Linked DNA regions of Homo sapiens: region 2 is linked to region 1. The links are contacts of gene promoters, found by promoter capture Hi-C in blood cells and fetal thymus (Javierre and others, 2016). All regions are on one chromosome and are shown on one strand. The core of a region is centred on a gene start or on the middle of the fragment in contact, and the rest is flanking DNA. Distances in the headings are between cores, read along the strand shown.

Region 1 (3,417 bases), core at 636-3,135:
CACCAACTTGGCTTTGTTTTATATTCCAGACCGGAGCATTCATAAATGGGGACTTGTGCTAAATACAATGTGTATTTCATTTTTTCCATTTTGTAAAATGTGCATGTAGTTTGTTATGGGATTTTAAAAAATTCCCAGAAGCACCATCCTATAGCAATAAAATGTTGTTTTAATCAAAAGCTTGGTTGTACTACATAACAAGGAAGTTCATAAAACCATTCAGTGTGAAGGTTTTTAACACTGTTGAAGAAGGAATTTTGCAGTTACAGAAAAGATTAAAGGAAAGGACTGTTTTGGTGAGCCCTAAAGCAAAACCATGGATCTTGTGATGAAACATACATTCTGCCATGACTGATTGTCACCAGAAAGGTTTTGAAGGCATATTACAGCACTGGATAAAATAAATCTATATCAAGCTATAGACAAAGAAGAGGGCTGGATGCTCACAGCTTGATGCTACACCATGACTCTCCAAGAGGCTCACTGGGCAAAGACTCAGGTTAGTTCTCCTGGCCTTGAGCTGGAGGGTGTTTTTTGTCCAGTAAATAGGGGCTGTGCTACCTCTTACAAAGCAAGCTTTATTGGGTAAATGAATGAATGATGAACCCAAATAAAGATTATTTTGGAGAACTCAGATGTAGACATGGAAAATTTCTTTGCTTTACAAGAGCTCACAAAGATAATTATATTCTATTCGCCTAACACATAGGGGAGCAGAAGTAATGAGCTTTCTTAAATGCTATTTCTCTGTAACACATTGCTGATGTCCTACATTTTACCATCATACACATCTTTTCAGGTAGTCTGTATTTCTATATGAAACATGGAACCCAAACAAATTGTTGCTATGAAGTGATCAGGGTGTAATATATCTTGAAATGGAAGGAAAGCTAGTATAATTCTAATTGTATAGATTTTAATAACTACATAGAGGTTTAATGTTATAATATAGTATATGTATCTTGAAGATCAAAATGTTTTAAGGATTAGTTTAAATATATAATTTTTCAAATTTGTCTTATCACTTCATTTTGTCCATTGTTGCAGAACTCAAGAGTTGTTGCAAATAAATAAATTTTTATAACCTGCATCTTAATAAATCATGCAAAATAGTTGACATTCAGTCATTATACAATTAACATGGACCCAATGAACCTGGTTCTATGAACAATGTCTAGACACAGTAAATGTTTAATGAAATTTGGTTGTTAGAAATTTATATCAGAAAAAAGTATCTATATGGGTTAACTTTAGCAATCATTCTATTCCTTTCGCTTGATCTCTGATGGATTAGAAGTCTATTAAATATCTCTACATTTTGCTTGACACAAGTGCATTGTAATTACAGCCATCAGGCCATCCTTAGCCATTTATTATTTTCATTTACTAAAACAGTCTCTACGATGATGACACCCTGTGGGATTAGGAATCTAATGGAAACAAAAATCTTGAAAAAGTGAAGATTGCAGGGTAAGACCCCTCATCAGAACAGTATCTTAAGAATGAAAAGGTAAGCTAGTGTAGGAAAAGTGAATCCTCAGGGACGCTAAGGAGGGAGCCTTCCTCCCAGCAGTGTTGCCATACCTAGCACCAGCTTTCTTTCATCTTGCTTTTATATCCCCCACTGCATCATCATAGTTATCTAGAGACCTCACCAGGCAGGCTGACGGTCATGTGTGGGTTGCCTAATTACAGGAACCTGAGATTTGACCACTTGGCAGCCAATTTTCTCTTTATGTAGAAAGATCTAATTGTTTATGTAATCATCACCATCATTAATACCTCAGAGATGACCTCATCCAGAAATGCTGGGAACTGGTGGAGTAGGACATGGGCGGAGTCAGTGTGTTCCTTTAAATACCTGTGGTCCCGGTGCAGCCTCCCGTGTCTGAAAGCATTTCTGGAGTGTTTTAGGCCTGTTCACTTTCTCTTACTCACTGTCTATTCACTTGTCCTGTTCACTCGTCTGGAAGATCTCAGCCAGCACCATGACTGACAATGAGCTGTCTGCCTTGGTAGTGGATAATGGGTCAGGGATGTGCAAGGCAGGCTTTGGTGGTGACGATGCCCCCCGGGCTGTGTTCCCCTCCATGATAGGGCGTCCTCGACACCAGGGCGTTATGGTAGGCATGGGCCAGAAGGACTGCTACGTGGGAGATGAGGCTCAGAGCAAGAGAGGCGTCCTGACCCTGAAGTATCCTATCGAGCATGGAGTGGTCACCAACTGGGACGATATGGAAAAGATCTGGTACCACACATTCTACAATGAGCTCCGTGTGGCACCAGATGAGCATCCCATCCTCCTCACCGAGGCACCCCTGAACCCCAAGATCAACCGGGAAAAGATGACTCAGATCATGTTCGAGGCTTTCAACACACCAGCCATGTATGTCGCCATCCAGGCTGTGCTGTCCCTCTATGCCTCAGGACGGACCACAGGCATCGTGATGGATTCTGGGGATGGGGTCACTCACATCGTGCCCATCTATGAAGGTTATGCCCTGCCTCATGCCATTCTACGCCTGGATCTGGCAGGGAGAGACCTGACTGATTACCTCATGAAGATCCTGACAGAGCGAGGCTATAACTTCACCACCACTGCTGAGCGGGAGATTGTGCGAGATGTCAAAGAGAAGCTGTGCTACGTAGCCCTGGACTTTGAGCAGGAGATGGTCAGGGCAGCCGCATCCTCCTCACCGGAACGGAGCTATGAACTTCCTGATGGGCAGGTGATCACCATTGGGAATGAACGCTTCCGATGCCCTGAAGCCATTTTCCAGCCTTCCTTTCTGGGCATTGAGTCCAGTGGGATCCATGAGACAACCTTCAACTCTATCATGAAGTGCGATGTGGATATTCGCAAGGATCTCTATGCCAACACCGTGTTATCTGGAGGGAGCACCATGTACCCAGGCATTGCTGACAGGATGCAGAAAGAAATCATAACCCTGGCACCCAGCACCATGAAAATCAAGATCATAGCTCCCCCAGAGCGGAAGTATTCTGTTTGGATTGGGGGCTCCATCCTTGCCAGCCTGTCCACATTCCAGCAGATGTGGATCAGTAAGCAGGAATATGATGAGGCTGGTCCTCCTATCGTTCACAGAAAATGTTTCTGAATGGGCTTCCATATTAGTGGGCTTACATTTTCCCTTTTCCTAGGTCACAGTGATGGTACTGCTTTTATCCGCTTTCAGTAGAATCGAGGTAAATACGTCACTCTTCCTAGTGTAAACCAGCAAACCCATCTCTCCATCCAAGTAACCTGGGCTCTTACCCAGATAACCACATCCGGTTCTCCATCAAGTGAAGGTGAATTCTAATACCATATTCCTTTTTCTTTGCCTATACTGTTCAAAGATAGGTAGGCCAGCTTAAATACATATAAGTGACAAGGAGTAAAATCACGAGAAATGT
Region 2 (3,717 bases), core at 654-3,153, 1.4 Mb before region 1:
TTCTGCTCTTCTATCATTTGAGACATTCTCTTGCACGTCATTTTCTCTACTCCCCAAGTCTTAGTTATCATCTACATACTAGAACTTTCCAGAACTCTCTTCTGAACTCTAGATCTGCACCTTCCAGATGTTCACTGGGTTGCATCCTTTGCACATCCTCTAGAAATATCAATCACAACACTGTGGATATGGAACTCATTCTCTTTTCTTTAAACCTACTGCTACTGTTGTACTTTCTCTCTTAGTTAATGGCAAAATCAACCAAGCCAGAAGCCTGAGGGTCTTCTTTGGTTTCTTCCTCTTCCTCTTCCCGAATCTTACTGGTCACCATTTCTTACCTTCTAAAGTGAACTTTCATGTATTCCCTACTCTTCATTTCTATCATTCTGCAATTAATTTAGAGATAAAACTTCTAGGTTACTATAATAGCTGTCTAATACTCTTTCTGTTTCTGTTATTGCCTCCCTTTAATTCATTTCTCATATTGCCAATTTTGTGATCTTCTAAAATTCAAATCTGTTCAAACTTCTACCTGGCTTAAATCTGTTCATGAATTCCCCACAGCTAGAGAATGAAATCTAGACATTTAAAGCATTTCTGATAAATGTTATGATCTCAGCCCTCGCTCTTTCTCCTTTTGTTTCATCCTGTGATCACCCTATGTGAATGGCTTTGAAATTCCATAAATACACCATGCTTTGCTAAACTTCCGTGGTTTGCTCCCCATGCTTGGAGCAGTCTTCTCTCACATCTGCCTCTGCATAATTCCTACATCTCCTGTATGTTTTAGCTCAGTCCTTGTTTCCTCTAGTAGGCCTTCTCAGAACATCCCAGCCCTTGCTTTCAATCTGGATTAATAATTGCTTCTCTCTGTGCTTTCACAGTAGCTTGTGTTTAACCTCTATATTGACACTAATCAAATTATATTGTAATTGTCTGCTTGGTAGAATATTGTTTTGAAATATTAATCCAGATTTTCATCCAACACTCACTTTCCATATATTTTCTATACCCTTTGCCTTTCTTCCACTTAGCAGAATTGCTTTAAGGGAGAGGCAATACTTAAAAAAGAGAACATAATTTTTAGATAAAATTTCCTGAGATTTAGAATTAATAAACAATGAGAAATTCTAGCTCAAAAGGACTCAGGTCATTAACAATAGATTAGGAAGAAAAGATGAGCAGGCAGTCTCTATCAGACTAAAGCTTCTTTGGACTGGGTGAGGGGTTGAGAAGTTAGAGGAGAAAGAGGAGAACCAAGAACCAAGAGGTGGAGTGTCCCTGAGAACTGTGCAAAGACTTTGTGGCCTTTTATATAGAAGGTGTCCTTTTCAAGTCTGTTAGGAAGTTGAGGAGAGAATGACTTAGCATTTTCTGAGGGTGACAGATGTTTTCTGTTTCATGCCTACTGTCTCAATGCTATTGAGTAAGTGGCCACATAGTAACTTCATGTTTTAAAATTAATTTTAAAAAAGCTAAGGGCATATTACTTGAGGGAATAGGGTACAGGCAGATTCCTGCTAAAACCAGTTGGATCTGGTTCTGCCACAAGAGCCTCAGAATAATCAGGAAACATGTGAAGTCTTTCTGGGCTCTTAATTTTTTTTTTTAAGTTTTGAACTGACTTTTATTGATTGTTATATATTTATCTGGGGGCAAAGGACTACAGTCCAAAAAATGCATTTTACAACATTTCAAAGAGGAAATTTTTGTGAGCTCTTTTGAAATGAAACAAATTTCCAATGTTCATTTTAAGTATTTATTAGACATATATATTAAGGAATATTTAGTTTATCAATGATGAGTTTTTTATTGATATTAACTTACACATTTTCCTCTATCACAATGGTTTAAGTTCATGGAGGGTCAGGACTCTATAGTATGTATTTTCATGTATACTGATAAATACTGATAAATTACTGAAATACTGATAAATACTGATAAATACTGATAAATTAGCATTAGAAGGCATTTTGTAAGTATTTGTTGATAATATAACTGGAAATCCCTTAATTTATTATCATTGTTTTCTTTTTTTTTTTTTTTGGTTTCTTAAGTGCTACTTGCTTTGTCTACCCAGGGAGGTTACCCTTCTATTACCAAGTTCAGTTCAGGAAGCTAATTTGACCCATGGGACTCATGTGGCTCTTCCAGGGACCTTCCCCCTTGACTGATTTTCAGTGCAGACTCCTTCCTGGAAATTGCCCTGAGGAACATTTGGAAGAAATTCCATAGAATCAGTGCTGTTAGTACAAGTAGAATGCTACAAGATTGCAAAATTAGTAGTAGGTCTGCTGTGATACAAATAGATTGGTAGCTGGGTGCTTCCCCATGCCTTGAGGCCCATGGCCAAGGAGATCCTGCACGGCATCCTAATCATCACTGCACCAAGCACTGTGCATTAAATGACACCCATTCCATTCACACATCCCATCCACATGTTTTCTCTGTTGACCGCCCTTGCCTCGGGCTATGCCAGTAGGGTGCTAAGTGATCATCAAACCTTAGACTTTTCATTTAGGGACACATGGTCTTCAAGTTGCAGACCTGAAGACCTTTATCTCCCTTAGCAGCTATTCTTGATCCTACAGCTAAGCTTTGTAACTCTGGAACCCAGTCAGTTGGGTCAGTTAGAAAGTTATCGACCTTGAAAGATTACAAGTATTAGAATTCATTCCTGTGCCTAAGTCCAAATTCATGTGTGAGATACTCAAAGCCCTAAATGTGTTCACTCTTCATCTTCAGTTCAAACTCAGTGTTGTACCTAAGATTATAGAAGTGGGAGAAGAAATGGAAATAAGCATCCTAGGATGAAAAATAATATGAATTGAAAGGAGATGAAAAACATTAATCAGACTAAGGCTAAGAAATTCAGGAATATAGTCTCTTAGATATTTATTGTAATCTTCAAGAAATAAAACAAACTCAAAGAACAAAAACCACTTTCTTTATAGAATTCACATACAAACTGAATACCTAATAGAGCACATACCATTTTTACACAATTAATTTCAATAAAGATAATTAAAACTTCACAATGTGAATACACTTCATAGCTTTAAACCCACACAAGAGCTCCTGTGGACACATGAAGAGTCACAATATTTGCTATGCAGCAGTAGTTTTCAACTAAATGTCGGTCACTATATGAAAGCATTAAGCTGTTTTCAATATTTTCTTAAGAAGAGTTCCACAGTGCAGTCACTGAGAAGGGGCCAAATGTGCCTGGTTCCAAAGGAAGATCTTCATCTGTGCATTTCCAATGCCCTTTATGGGAAACATGGAGCTACAGAAAAATCTCTGGGTACACATCTGCCAGGTGGCATTAGGTCGGACAATCTCTCATGGTTTGGTGCACTGGCAAATGTCTAAATCAACTGCCGTAATATGGCATTAAAGCAATTTGCATATTGTGGCTGAGTCTTGAGCTGCTCAGCACAGAGGAATATGATAATGCAACAGCTTGTCTTCCTCACGGAGACTAAAAGGTAGGGAGCTAAACTGGGGTAATTTGAATGGTTTCAAAGGGCCAGTTTGGCTGTCTTAAGAAAACAATGATCTATAGCTGATAGCTTTGTCTCTCTTCCATTCAAAGGAAACATAACTGTGGCCTTTCCCACTTATTTTCCTGGCACAATCTCCTCACTACCTAATTCTTTCCGGAATTATGTTTGACCTCTTCAATGGAGCCCTCTCTGACTCTTCCAGTTCTTACAG

Evidence for each region. Contacts are between HindIII fragments. The CHiCAGO score rates a contact against its expected background, and 5 or more counts as called.
Region 2: a contact is called between a fragment that was not itself captured here and the fragment with the promoter of ACTBL2 in region 1, in 1 of 17 cell types (M2 macrophages). The highest score is 6.9, in M2 macrophages.

Annotation. Positions count from the first base shown.
Region 1 is chr5:57,481,279-57,484,695 of GRCh38, reverse strand. ACTBL2 (actin beta like 2) reads left to right here and starts at 1,885. Exons shown (of 1, transcript NM_001017992.4): 1 at 1,885-3,417. The coding sequence starts at 1,989. The coding sequence ends at 3,119. The region is part of intron 1 of RMEL3 (enriched in melanoma 3); the gene reads right to left. The HindIII fragment of the contact is 2,872 bases long and covers 579-3,417 here.
Region 2 is chr5:58,858,548-58,862,264 of GRCh38, reverse strand. RAB3C (RAB3C, member RAS oncogene family) reads right to left here. Exons shown (of 5, transcript NM_138453.4): 5 at 2,871-3,717. Among named protein-coding and RNA genes, the nearest start is that of PDE4D-AS1, 180 kb to the left of the region's middle. The HindIII fragment of the contact is 1,390 bases long and covers 1,209-2,598 here.